Linked DNA regions of Homo sapiens: region 2 is linked to region 1. Evidence: promoter capture Hi-C in 16 types of primary human blood cells and fetal thymus (Javierre and others, 2016). All regions are on one chromosome and are shown on one strand. The core of a region is centred on a gene start or on the middle of the fragment in contact, and the rest is flanking DNA. Distances in the headings are between cores, read along the strand shown.

Region 1 (7,096 bases), core at 3,039-5,538:
GTGGGGATTGGGGATTCCGAGGGCTATGACTAAGGTTGAGTGGTCTGGGAGGAGCCAAGGGCTCAGGTCAGTCCTGGGAGTTTTTTTTTTTCTTTCTTTAAAAGAAATTAATAATAATAATAATAATAATAATAGAGACAAAGTCTCCCTATGTTGCCCAGGCTGGTCTTGAACTCCTGGGCTCAAGGGATCCTGCTGCTTCGGCCTCCCAAAGGGCTACAATTACAGGCGTGAGCCACCGCGCCCGGCTTTTTAAATTTTTTAATTTAAATTTTTCCTTGTAGGCCGGGCGCGGTGGCTCGCGCCTGTAATCCCAACCCTTTGGGAGGCTGAGGCATGCGGATCACCTGAGGCCAGGAGTCCGTGTCCAGCCTGGCCAACATAGTGAAAACACGTCTCTGTTAAAAGTACAAAAAAAAAAAAAAAAATTAGCCGGGCTGGTGGGCCGCGCCTATAGTCCCAGCTACTTGGGAGACTGAGGCGGAAGAATCGCCTGAACCCGGAATGCGGAGGTTGCAGTGAGGCGGAATCGCACCACCGCACTCCAGCCTGGGCGACAGAGGAAGACTCCATCTAAAAGAAATTTTTTTTCTTGAGACAGGGTCTTGCTCTGTCCCCCAGGCTGGAGTGCAGTGCTGCGATCATAGCTCACTATAGCTTCGAACTCCTGGGCTCAGTTGATCCTCCCACCTTGCTCTCCTGAGTAGCTGGGACCACAGGTGTGCACCACCACGCCTGGCTAATTTTTTATTTTTATTTTTTGAGACGGAGTTTCGCTCCTGTTGCCCAAGCTGGAGTGCAATGGCGCGATCTCGGCTCACTGCCACTTCCGCCTCCCGGGTTCAAGCGATTCTCCTGCCGCAGCCTCTGAGCAGCTGGGATTACAGGCGTGTGCCACGACGGCCGGCTAATTTTTTTTTTTTTTTTTTGTATTTTTAGTAGAGACGGGGCTTCACCATGTCGGTCAGGCCGGTCTCGAACTCCTGACCTCAGGTGATCCGCTCGCCTTGTCCTCCCAAAGTGCTGGGATTACAGGCGTGAGCCACAGCACTTGGCCAATTATTTTTTATATTTTGTAGAGACGGGGGTCTCACTATGTTGCCCAGCTGGTCTCGAACTCCAGGGCTCAAGGGATCCTCCCACCTCGGCCTCCCAAAATGCAGGGACTACAGGTGTGACACAGTGTGCCCTGCCAAGCCTGGGAGATCTGAGAGGGAGGGGTTGGGAGGTTGAGGGGGGTGGGGGCTGGGACTCCCACAGGAGTGAGAGAGGGGCTGGTCTCACTTGGTCCTGGGCTAGGAGGTCTCCCACTGTGTTCAATAGCTTGTAAAACACCTCGAACCAAGGCAGGTGGCTGTGGAGAGAGGAGACAGGTTCCACGAAGTGTCCCTAGGCCTCGGCCTTTCCCATCCCCCCCTCCAACCCCCATATCCCGCACCTGAGGATGCAGAGACAGCTCTGGGTACCCGCCCGCAGGCGGCAGAAACCAAATCTGCGGTTGCCGGCAAGGTCTGTGAGGGCGAAGGTGAAATGCTGCACGGCGGGGCTGGGGGGCTCCCTGGAGTGGGAAGGGCTGTTAGAGAGACCTGGACATCCCAGCTGTCTGAGGATGTCCCCGCTCCCCAACAAAGCTCCTAGGACCCTGAGTGTATGGGTCTCTAGTTGTCAGGATCCCTGAATGTCTGGATCCCTGGGTCTCAGAATCCCTGGGTCCCTGAATCTCTGGGTCCCTGGATCTCTGGGTCCCTGAGTCCCTGGGTCCCTGGATCTCTGGGTTTCTGGATCTCTGGGTCCTTGAATCCCTAAGTCCCTGGGTTCCTCAGTCCCTGAGTCCCTGAGTCCCTGAGTCCCTGGTCCCTGAGTTTCTGAGTCTCTGGGTTCCGAAGTCCCTGAATCCTTGTGTCCCTGAGTCCTTGAGTCTCTGAGTCCCTGGGTCCCTGGGTCCCTGGGTTCCTGAGTCCCTAGATCTCTGGGTCCCTGAGTGTCTGAGTCCCTGGATGCTAATGTATATAGGTCCCTAGTTCTCAGGGCCCCTGAGTGTCTGAGTCTCTGAGTCTCAGGGTCCTCGAGTGTATGGGTTTCCAGATGTCTGAGTCTCTAGGTGTTGAGTCCTTGGGGCCCCTGAGAGATCTGAGTCCCTGAGTCCTTGGATCTCCCCGCCCTTCCGTACCTTTCCACATCAAAAGGGAAGCAGAATTTAGGCACCATCTGCATAGCTTCCTGGAGGTGAAGAAAAGCGCAGACTGCTTGGCCACTGAGGTCGGGCACCACCTCCCTGGGCTCCAGGTCCAAGAAACCAAGTCCCCTCCCCCTGGGAGACTGGCCCTCGCCCTGGGGGAGCAAGGAGCCAGCCTGAATACCTGGTCCCTGAAGTCTGGAGGGAACTGCCGCAGGATGGGGGGATCTGTAGAAGAGAGCACGCCTCTAAGTTCAGCGACCCAGGCCCACCCTCCCCTCCCACTCCCTCACTCCCAGGCTCCCAACTCACCCTCCTGCAGGGAGGCAGGGCAGGCCGCTTCGAAGAACCAATCAAACACAGCAGGGGAGCCCCCTCTGTGGGATGCAGAAGGGGTCCAGAGACTTGCTTCTATGCATGTGTGGTTGTGTCTGCCACTTTGCACACAAGTGTGGTTGTGTGTGCATGTGCCACAAGGTGCGTCGGCATGTGCATGACTCTGGGGGTTTGTGGCTGTGAGTGTGTGGTTGTGTGAGGCTGTGTGTGCAGCAGTGTTAATTGAACACACAAGTACAGGATGGAGTGAGAAAGTGTGACTGTGTGTGTGTGGCTGTGTATGATTGTGTGTGGCTGAGTGCATGGCTTTTGTGAGCAGGCAGTGTGTGTGTGATCCTGTCTGCTGTCTGCCTGAAAAGATGAGACTGTCTCCTATATCTGTGGCATGAGACTGCACAGATATGAAGGACAGCCCGTGCAGTCCCAAGCTAAGTGAATTACATCTCTCTCTCTCTATATATATATCCATCTATCTGTCTGTCTGTCTGTCTCTGTCTATCCATCCATCCATCCATCCACCCACCCACCCACCTATCCATCCACCCACCCACCTATCTATCTATCTATCTATCTATCTATCTATCTATCTATCTATCTATCTATCTATTTTTTTGAGATGGAGTTTTGCTTTGTCACCCAGGCTGGAGTACAGTGGCACGATCTTGGCTCACTGCAACCTCCACCCCACAGGTTCAAGCGATTCTCCTGCCTCAGCCTCCCTGTAGCTGGGATTACAGGTGCCCGCCACCACGCCCAGCTAATTTTCATATTTTTAGTAGAGACAGGGTTTCACATACTGGCCAGGCTGTTCTCAAACTCCTGACCTCAGGTGATCTGCCCGCCTCAGCCTCCCAAATTGCTGGGATTACAGGCTTGAGTCACTGCATCTAGCCATGCCATCTATATTTTCTTGTATAGATGTGAGTGTGTGTGCCCGAGCAAGTGAATGACATCTATATTTTCCTGTACAGCTGTGAGTGTCACTGGGTAACCGCGTGGGATCCTTGTGGGCTGGCTGTGTGTCTCTGTGTGTGAGACCCCATAGAACCCTCGTGGCTGGTCCCACATGTCTCATCAGAGAAAGGAGGGCAGGATACCTAGGTACTTACTGTAAGCCCTGCAATCTCTGCTTTCCTCCTCTGCCCCCATATCAAGCAGAAGAGGCAGCCTTGGGCTCAAGGAGAGAGACAGGGAGATCTAGAGGGAGATCAGCTGCACACACACTGTCCCGCCCAGTTGCACACACAGTCCCCACCATGGGTACCCCAGCACTTCACCCTCACGCCGACACAAGTCACACACGATCACCCACTCATACCAACACCCAGCCTCCCCTCTGCCCTGATCATCCGCCCTGTGGACCCCCTGAAGCCATCACTCAGACATACCAAGGACAAAGCTCAGAGGGGTACATGCATTCACAGAGCTATAGACATAATCACAGGAGCTGGATAGAGAGAGAGAGAGAGAGAGAGAGGAGGGGACCGAGAGTGGCCTGTCCCAGAGTGAAGGTCATAGCGGAGGCCCATGGAGTATCTGATTCCAGCCACCTGCCCTGGCAGGTCACTGCACCTCCCGGGCCTGCTCCAGCCCCAGCTCCCCTCTGCCCCGGCTCAGGCCTGGCCCGGGAATCTTGTACCAGAGAATGAGGGATGGGGTGGCTCTTACTCAGCTCTGGATTCCATGGTCCCTGCAGGGCCAGCCCAGCGGGGCCCTCTCCCCAGGGGTCCTGGGGGCCTGTGTATGCTGGGCCCCAAGCCGGCTCAGCTTCCTGTGTGGCTGAGAGAGGAAGTTTAACGGGTGACGTCCCCGGACAGAGGCCCTGCCCCCACCCCCGTGAGAAACCCAGGCATCCTGCCTGCTAATTATGTTGGGGATGGGTGGGCAATAAGTGGTCAGCCTGGGAAGGCAGACCCCCAGCTCCGTCCCCGCCAGGCTGGACTGTGTCTGGTTCCCCCCATCGTGCCTGGGCCCTCATCTCTCCTTCCCCGCTCCGCAGCAGCCAAGATTCACAGTCTGTCTATTAATGAAATGCCTCCCCGTCTCTTTCCCTTGGTCCATTTGGCCTGGACGGTCACTGGTGGACCACCAGAGGGAGCCACCTGTAAAGTGGACGGTGGGGGGGCCAGGGATGGGGACAAAGAGCACGAAGTACAGGCACAGGGACGGACAGACAGACACAGACACAGACAGTTACACGCTCAGGAAGTCATCAGCACAGACAAACCGAGTGCAGAAGAGCCAGAGACGACAGACATGGAGAGATAGGGAGTCCTACAGCTGGATCATAGTCCCAGGCCGGGCACAGTGGCTCACGCCTATAATCCCAGCACTTTGAGAGGCCAAGGTGGGAGGACCGCTTGAGCCCAGGAGTTCGAGACCAGCCTGGGAAACATGGCGAAACCCTGTGTCTATAAAAGCTACAAAAATTATAGCTGGCGGTGGTGGCACGCACCTATAGTCCCAGCTTACCCAGGAGGCTGAGTCAGGAGGATCGCCTGAGCCTGGGGAGTTTGAGGCCATAGTGAACCAAGATTGCACTACTGTACTCCAGCCTGAGCAACAAAGTGAGATCCTGTCTCAAAAAAAAAAAAAAACAACTTAGTCACAGTTACACACCCATTGTGCGCAGAAAGACAAGGTAAGCGGATCACTTGAGGTCAGGAGTTTGCAACCAGCCTGGCCAACATGGTGAAACCCTGTCTCTAATTAAAAAAAAATACAGGCCAGGTGCGGTGGCTCACATCTGTAATCCCAGCACTTTGGGAGGCTGAGGCAGGTGGATCACGAGGTCAGGAGTTCGAGACCAGCCTGGCCAAGATGGTGAAACCCAGTCTCTACTAAAAATACAAAGATTAGCCAGGCACGGTGGTGGGCATCTGTAATCCCAGTTACTCAGGAGGCTGAGGCAGAATTATTTGAACCTGGGAGGCGGAGTTTGCAGTGAGCCGATATCGCGCCGCTGTACTCTAGCCTGGGCGACAGAGCAGGACTCTGTCTCAAAAAATCAAAAACAAACAAACAAACAAAAAATTAGCTGGGCATGGTGGCATGTGCCTGTAATCCCAGCTGCTTGGGAGGCTGAAGCAGGAGAATCACTTGAATCCGGGAGGCAGAGGTTGCAGTGAGCCGAGATCGTGCCACTGCACTCCAGCCTGGGTGAAAGAGTGAGACTCCATCTCAAAAACAAAAACAAAAACAAAGCAAACAAACAAACAAACAAATGCAGAGACAGACAGAGACACAATAAACAGTTACACAGAGACCACAGCCATTGATACAAACAGAATAACAGAGAAATAGACCCAGATAGATGGAAACACAGCACAGACATAGCTCAAGTAATAACCAGATATAGTTATAGCCAAGACCCGGCCACATGCAGAGAGAGACACAGCTGGACTCACATGACAGCCAGATACTCATGACAGCCCGACACACTCAAGCCGTGCTGCAGACTATGAAAGACACAGGGGCTGGAGGCAGTGGCTCAGTAATCCCAGCACCTTGGGAGGCTGAGGTAGGATTGTTTGAGGCCAGGAGTTAAAGATCAGCCTGAGCAATATAACAAGACCCCATCTTTACAAAAATTAAAACTTTAGCCAGGTGCAGTAGTCCCAGCTATTCTGTAGGCTGAGGCGGGAGGATCCCTTGAGCCCAGGTGGTGGGGGTTGTAGTGAGCTGTGATCGTGCCATTGCACTCCAGCCTGGGCAACGGTGTAAGACCCTATCTCCAAACAAACACAGGAACAAACAAAAACAACAAAAAAGACACAGGCACACAGGTGGACAGACGTAGTCATGTTGAGACAGGATATGTGAACATATCTGCAGGCACAAAAACAGAACATGATATAGTCAGGGTCACACCTACACATGAAATCCTGCCAACAGACTCAGACCACTGTGTGGTGTGAAAACACCTCGTGGCCGGGTGCGGTGGCTCACACCTGTAATCCCAGCACTTTGGGAGGCCGAGGTGGGCGGGTCACCTGAGGTCGGGAGTTTGAGACCAGCATGGGCAACTTGGAGAAACCCCGTCTCTACTAAAGATACAAAATTAGCCGGGTGTGGTGGTGACACATACTTGTAATCCTAGCTACTCAGGGGGCTGAGGCAGGAGAATTGCTTGAACATGGGAGGCGGAGGCTGTGGTGAGCCAAGATCGTGCCATTGCACTCCAGCCTGGGCATCAAGAGCAAAACTCCATCAAAAAAAAAAAAAAGAAGAAGAAGAAGAAGACACCTCGTACCCACAGTCACTGGACACATACAGAGTCAGAATCCCGTCAGCCACATCCTCACACAGTCTGATGGACATGTGCTATTGTCCGAATATGTGTCCCTCCAAAATTCGTATGTTGAAACCTAAAGCCCCAAGGCAGTAGTAAGAGGAGCCGAGATTGCGCCATTGCACTCCAGCCTGGGCAACAAGAGTGAAACTCCGTCTCAAAAAAAAAAAAAAAAAATAGGTGAGGCCTCTGGGAGGTGATGAGGTCAAGAGGTATCCACCCTCAACAGTGGGATTAATGCCTTTATAAAAGAGGCTTGAGGCCCAGTGCGGTGGCTCTGGCAGGGTGCAGTG
Region 2 (7,096 bases), core at 1,756-4,255, 400 kb after region 1:
TGTCTAGCTGATCACTAGGGCTTTAGGGGGAGTGGAGATCAATAAAACAAGATGGGGAGACCAGAGTCAGACTACGTAGAGCCTTGAGTGCCATATTAATAAGCCTGAACTTCATCCTGAGGGCAATAGGGAGCCATGGAAGGGTTTAGAGTCTAAGCAGGGCGTGGACAGGTTAGGCAGGGATTCCCCAACTTCCCTGCCCCTTCCCGGCACTCTGTGTGACGGTAAGTGATGTTCCTGCAGCTCCCCAGGCTGATTTCTTCAATCTTGAGAGTCCCTTGTATTCCCCTTTGCTAGGGAAGTCATTAGGGGTTAGATTTTGTAAGCTTCTTGGCCAGAATTGTTGATTTCCTCTTCCACATCTTTCCCCTTCCTGTTCTTACACCCCCACCCGCAACTCTGCAGGGCCGCTGCAGGACAGTCTTTATATAGCTTCGGTCACCTCTGTGGGTTTGAAGGGTGTCTGGAGTCTTGGGTTTTCAGTGTCTCACTAGGACCCGATACCCTGCCTGTGGTAGGTGGGATAAAGGGCCTCCTCTCCCTCCACGAGGCACCTACAGCCTAATCCCTAAAGCCCAAGGATGTGTTCCCTTCTATGACAAAAGGGACTTTTGCAGATGGGATTCAGTTAAGGGCTATTTTTTTGGGGGGGAGGTGGGGGGAGTGGGGACAGAGTCTTACTCTGCTGCCCAGGCTGGAGTGCAATGGCACGATCTCAGCTCACTGCAACCTCTGCCTAATGTCATTACAAGAATTCTTACGAGAAGGAGACAGGAGGATCAGGGAGAGAGAGAGAGATGGAGAGATAGAGATACACAGAGAGTGAGAGAGAGAGAAAGAATGAGAGAGAACGAGAGAGAGAGAGAGAGAACAAGAGCAATAAGGAGAGTGAACAAGACAGACAGAATGGGCCAGGCGCAGTGGCTCGCGCCTGTAATTCCAGCACTTTGGGAGGCCGAGGCGGGCGGATCACTTGAGGTCAGGAGATTAAGGCCAGTCTAGTCAATATGGTGAAACCCCATCTCTACTAAAAATACAAAAGTTAGCCAGGTATGGTGGCAGATGCCTGTAATCCCAGCTACTCGGGAGGCTGAAGCAGGAGAATCGCTTGAACCCGAGAGACGGAGGTTGCAGTGAGCCGAGATCGTACCACTGCACTCCAGCCTGGGTGACAGACTGAGACTCTGTCTCAAAAAAAAAGGAGAAAAAAAAAAGAGAGAATGAAAGAGCAAGAGGGAGGGAAAAATGAGAGAATAAGCAAGAGAGAGAACTTGAGAGAGAGACAGACAGAGAAAAAGAGAGAGAATGAGAGAGCAAGAGAGAGGGAAAATGAGAGAGAGAGAGAGAGCAAGAACGAGAGATTTAGAGTACGCAAGAGACATTTGAAACTGCTAGCTGCTGGCTTTGCATAGGAAGGAAGGGACCATGAGCCAGGGCATGTGGGTTGCCTCCAGAAGCCAGAAAGGACAAGGAATGGATTCTGCCCTGGAGCCTCGGGAAGGATTGCAGCCCTGCTGGCATCTTGGTTTTAGTCCCATGAGACTCGAGAGGACTCTGACCTCTGGACCCATCATATACTAAATCTGTGTTTTCCCCAAGCTGCCAGGTCCGTGGCAAGCCTCATCCCATCCCCATCCCCAGAAGGGATCTGGGTTTGATTGCAAAACCTTCCAACTCTTTAGCCCAGCCTCCAAATGTCGAATCCTTCTTCTGTCTCAAACTCCCCTGCTACATCTAGACAGTCCCCAAATTCGGTTGTTCCTGCCTCCTAAATTCTCCGTCACTATAGCCCCTGCCCCAGACCAGGCCACTGTTCTCTTCTCTCTCCTGGCTGTATCCCCAGCCTCCTCCCTATCTGCCCACCTGTGAACCCATCCTGTCCAATACCCACCTACAAAACACAAACATAAAATTCCAACCTGAGCCTGTGGCTCCTTTGCTGAACCTCCTTTTATTGCCCCGAGGGTAAAGCCTAAACTCTTTCACCCACCTTATAAGGTTCTGTCTGATATGAAATTTGCTGGCTTCTCCAATTCAAATTTTGCTGGTATCAGGATTTTTTCTATGAGTAGCTGCAACTATTTAGCATGGTGGAATAATAATAATACCAATAATAACTAATAGTATTTAAGCATTTAATCTGTGCCAGGCACAGTTTTATTATTGTATCACCTTAACCCTCAAACTCCATGAAGTTAGACCCTTTATTTATTTATTTATTTATTTATTTTTGAGACAGAGTCTCGCTCTGTCACCCAGGCTGGAGTGCAGTGGTGTCATCTTGGCTCACTGCAACCTCCGCCTCCCAGATTCAAGTGAGTCTCCTGCCTCAGCCTCCCGGGTAACTGGAACTACAGGCGTGTGCCCCCATGCCTGCATAGTTTTTTGTATTTTTAGTAGAGACGGGGTTTTACCATGTTAGCCGGGCTGGTCTCAATCTCCTGACCTCATGATCCACCCGCCTTGGCCTCCCAAAGTACTGGGATTACAGGCATGAGCCACCACACCTGGCCCTAGTTAGACACATTATTACCCTCATTTTATTAATGGTGAAAACTGCTTCTTAGGTGTATTGGTTATCTCTTGCTGTGTATCAAATTACTCCAAAACTTAGCAGCTTAAAATAGGGAACTTTTAGTCTCTTACAGTTTCTGAGGATCAGGAGTCTGGGGGTGGCTGAGCTGAATAATTCTGGCTCAAGCTCTTGCTTGAGGTTATAGTCAAGCCATTGACCAGGGCTGGCTCATCTGAAAGTTCGACTGGGGTGGGAAGATTTGCTTCCAAGGCAGCTCACTCACATGACTGTTGGTGGGAGGCTCAGTTCCTCCACAGCACTGCTTGAATCTCCTTACAACATGGCGACTGGCTACTCCCCAGTGCATGACCCTGGAAAGAGAGAGCAACGAGGATGCCACAATGGCACGTATGACCTAGTCACAAACTGTCATGTGCTCCTTTTTCTGATCAATAGAAACAAGTCACACTGGGCATAGTGTCTCATACGTGTAATCCCAGCACTTTGGGAGGCTGAGGCAGGAAGACCACTTGGGCCCAGAGTTCAAGACCAGCCTGGGCAACATAGCAAGATCCTATCTCTGCAAACAAACAAAAAGTCAGCTGGGTGTGGTGGCACATGCTTGTCATCCCAGCTACTTGGGAGGCTCATGTAGGAGGATCACTTGAGCCCAGGACTTGGAGGCTGCAATGAGCTATGATCATGCCACTGTACTCCAGCCTGGGCAACAGAGCAAAATTCTGTCTTAAAAAAAAAAGAGAGAGAGAGAGAGAGAGAGAAACAAGTCACTAAGTCTATGTTCAAGGAGAGAGGGATTAGTCTCTACCACCTGAAGAGTATGAAAGAACTGATGGATATGTTAAAACCACCACATTGGTCTTCCTGCCTCTAGAGTCCACACTCCTGGATACACTGAACAAGGATTATAGGAGAAAGTGCAAGCCTCTGGCAGTCACTTCTAGTAGATAACATTACCTGAAAGGGAATTATGGGGGGAGGAGGAGAGCGAGGACCAATATCACCAGGGGATGGGAGGTGGGAGGGGAGAGCTACATCTGTGGTCTCTGCAGAGCAGACACTTTTCCAGGGAAACCCTTTTCTTTCTAATCTTTGTGAGTCCCCCAGTGGATATTTGTGTATCTGAGACCTATGAGATACTCGTCCTATGAGACCTCATAGGACGCTGAGACCCCACATTCAGCATTCTATGATCAGGAGCATATGGAGAAGATGTGGGTGCAGAGACATTGCTCAAAGAATACAAAGTTTCAGTTGAACAAGAGGAATATGTTCGAGAGATCTATTGTACAACATGGTGACTGTAGTTAATAACAATGAACAATGTAGCATATCCTTGAAAATTGCTAAGAGGGTAGATGTAACTATTCTTACCACAAAAAAATGACGTGCATGCAAAGGAACAGATAGGTTTATTGCCTCGATTTAGCCATTCCACCACATATACGTATCTCAGAACACCATGTTGTACACCATAAATATATACAATTTAATTTGTCAATTCAAAAAAGAATTTTTTTTTTTTTTTTGACAGAGTCTTGCTCTGTCGCCCAGGCTGGAGTGCAATGGTGCAGTCTAGGCTCACTGCAACCTCTGCCTCCCAGGTTCAAGCAATTCTCCTGCCTCAGCCTCCATGTACCTGAGATTACAGGCACCCACCAGCACACCCAGCTAATTTTTGTATTTTTAGTAGAGACGGGGTTTCACCATGTTGACCAAGCTGATCTCAAACCCCTGACTTCGTGATCCACCCGCCTCGGCCTCTGAAAGTGCTGGGATTACAGGTGTGAGCCACTGTGCCTGGCCCAAAAACGGAAAAGAAAAAAAGAGAGCACATAGACCTCACATATTAACTAGGGGAAATAAGAAGTCAAAATAAACCAAGGCTCAGAAGCCAACGAATTAGAGCTGGTGTTTCTCATAGGTCTCAGACACCCAAATATCCACCTGCAGGCTTTTTTTTTTCTTTTTTTTTGAGACAGGGTCTCACTCTGTCACCCAGGCTGGAGTGCAGTGGTACAATCTCAGCTCACTGCAACCTTCTCCTCCTCCCGGGTTTAAGCGATTCTCCTGCTTCAGCCTCCCAAGTAGCTGAGACTACAGGTGTGCACCACCATGCCTGGCTAACAAAGATTGTAAAGAAAAGGATTTCCCTGGACAAGTGTCTGCTCTGCAGAGACCACAGATGTAGCTCTCCCTGCTCACCTCCCATCCTCTGGTAACATTAGTCCTCGCTCTCCTTCTACCCCCAGAATTCCCTTTCGGGTAATGTTATCTACTGGAATGGACTGCCAGAGGCTTGCACTTTTTCCTATAATCCTGGACTCTGGATACAGCGTGGAACAGAAAAATGTAGAAGGAAGCTGGGTGCGGTGGCTCACACCAGCAATCCCAGCACTTTGGGAGGGTATCGTGGGAGGATTGATTGAGCCCAGGAGTTCAGGACCAGAGACCAGCCTGGGCAACATTACCAGACTCCATCTCTACCAAAAAGTGTTAAAAAAAAAATTAGCCAGGCATGGTAGCAGGTGCCTGTAGTCCTGCTACTCAGGAGGCTGAGGTGGGAGGACTGCTGAAGCCCAGGAGATGGAGGCTGCAGTAAGCTGTGATTGCACCACTGCACTCCAGCCTGGGCAACAGAGCGAGACTCTCTAAAAGAAATAAAAATTTTTTAAAAATTTAAAAATTACAGAGGGGGCCGGGCCTGGTGGCTCATGCCTGTAATCCTAGCACTTTGGGAGGCTGAGGTGGGTGGATGACAAGGTCAAGAGATAGAGACCATCCTGGCCAACATGGTGAAACCCTTCTCTACTAAAAATACAAAAATTAGCTGGGCATGGTGGCATGTGCCTTTAGTCCCAGCTACTTGGGAGGCTGAGGTGGGAGAATTGCTTGAACCCAGGAGGCGGAGGTTGCAGTGAGCCGAGATCGCGCCACTGCACTCCAGCCTGGCAACAGAGCAAGATTTGGTCTCAAAAAACAAACGAAAAAATTGCAGAGGGAATCCTAGAGCTGTGGAAGTCTGGATAGGTGCCCTCTTCAGACAGCAGCTTCTTTCAAACTTAATGAGGCTTTGCACATGCTTTATTTTATTTTTCTTTTGTATTACCTTTTCTGCTAAGTGTGATTATCTCCTGCTCATTCTCCAGGGCTAAGCTTAGACGTTAGCTCCTTTGGGAGGCCATTCTCTCAACCCCCAACCTGGGTCAGGCCTCCTCTGGCCAAGTAATAGCTTCCTCACCTCTGGCTTTCTGTATCTTACAATGGGGAGGACAATCCTGTCTTTTCCCCAGCAACCCTGGGGTGTTGGGCGTGTGGACATCATCCATGCCTGATAACAATACCAACCATCTCAACCAAGGGAAATGAGAAGTCAAAAGACACCAAGAGTCAGAAGCCAACAAGTTAGAGCTGGTGTTTCTGTTTATGGAGCTCATGGCAGGCACTCACCTGCCGCATATGCTGAGCGGTTTCCAGCATCCCTACATGCTCAAGGATCCTGTGGGACAGGGCTGATCATTATCCCTATTCTCCTGATAAGAGACTGAGGCTCAGAGAGGTGAATCACCTCCTGTGGTCACTTTGGAAATACCTTACAGAGTCAGGATTTGAACCCATGGCTGTCTGAGTTCAGTTCCTGTCACTGCAATAACCAACACTTGGAACGTTGGGTGCCAGGCTCTGTTCTTGGTATGCCATATATACTCACTCCTCTGATGCCCACACCAGGTCCATGAGGCAGATCCTACTCTTTTTTTTTTGAGACAGAGTCTTGCTCTGTCACCCAGGCTGGAGTGCAGTGGCACAATCTCAGCTCACTGCAACCTCCACCTCCCGGGTTCAAGTGATTCTCCTGCCTTGGACTTCCAAGTAGCTGGGATTACAGGCACGTGTCACCACGCCCAGCTAATTTTTTGTAGTTTTAGTTGAGACGGGATTTCACCATGTTGGCCAGGCTGGTCTCGAACTTCTGACCTCAAGTGATCCACCCGCCTCCCAAAGTGTTGGGATTACAGGCATGAGCCACTGCTCCTGGGTGAGATCCTATTCTTAATGCGCCCATTTTACAGATGAGAATATTTGAGGCAAGCAGTGGAGGTGGGATTTGAACCTCTGGCAATATGTTTCCAGAGTTCATCTCCAGTGCTTCCGGAAACCACAATGCAGCTCTGTTTGTACCCCTTCCTGGTGGAATTTACTGTATTTTCATGCTGACTCTTAAGTTCAGCCTCTCCAGGCAGTGTCCCTTATTTTCCCCTTAAGAAAAAAAAAAAGTGCAACTGGCTGTCAGCACTTACTTAATTTTACATAAACACCCTTTTTGGGGCTGAAGCAAATCTGACTTCTTTTCTTTTTTTTTTCTTTTAGAAAAACACACTTTATTCATATTTCTTTGGGGTTTTGTTTTGTTGTTGTTGTTGTTTTTGTTTGTTTTTTGAGACCAAGTCTTGCTGTGTCACCCAGGCTGGAGTACAGTGGTGCGATCTCAGCTCACTGCAACGTCTGCCTCCCAGGCTCAAGCTATTCTCCTGCCTCAGCCTCCCAAGTAGCTGGGACTACAGG

The links. The method cuts DNA at HindIII sites, captures the fragments that hold promoters and counts their contacts. A CHiCAGO score of 5 or more calls a contact.
Region 2: a contact is called between a fragment that was not itself captured here and the fragment with the promoter of DENND1C in region 1, in 1 of 17 cell types (total CD4 T cells). The highest score is 5.4, in total CD4 T cells.

What each region holds. Positions count from the first base shown.
Region 1 is chr19:6,477,499-6,484,594 of GRCh38, forward strand. DENND1C (DENN domain containing 1C) reads right to left here and starts at 4,289. Exons shown (of 23, transcript NM_024898.4): 1 at 4,181-4,289; 2 at 2,489-2,553; 3 at 2,361-2,404; 4 at 2,171-2,220; 5 at 1,439-1,558; 6 at 1,285-1,354. The coding sequence starts at 4,197. RefSeq lists enhancers at 2,384-2,883, 4,480-4,774. The HindIII fragment of the contact is 23,241 bases long and covers 1-7,096 here.
Region 2 is chr19:6,876,622-6,883,717 of GRCh38, forward strand. No RefSeq gene overlaps it. Among named protein-coding and RNA genes, the nearest start is that of ADGRE1, 7.4 kb to the right of the region's middle. The HindIII fragment of the contact is 5,363 bases long and covers 325-5,687 here.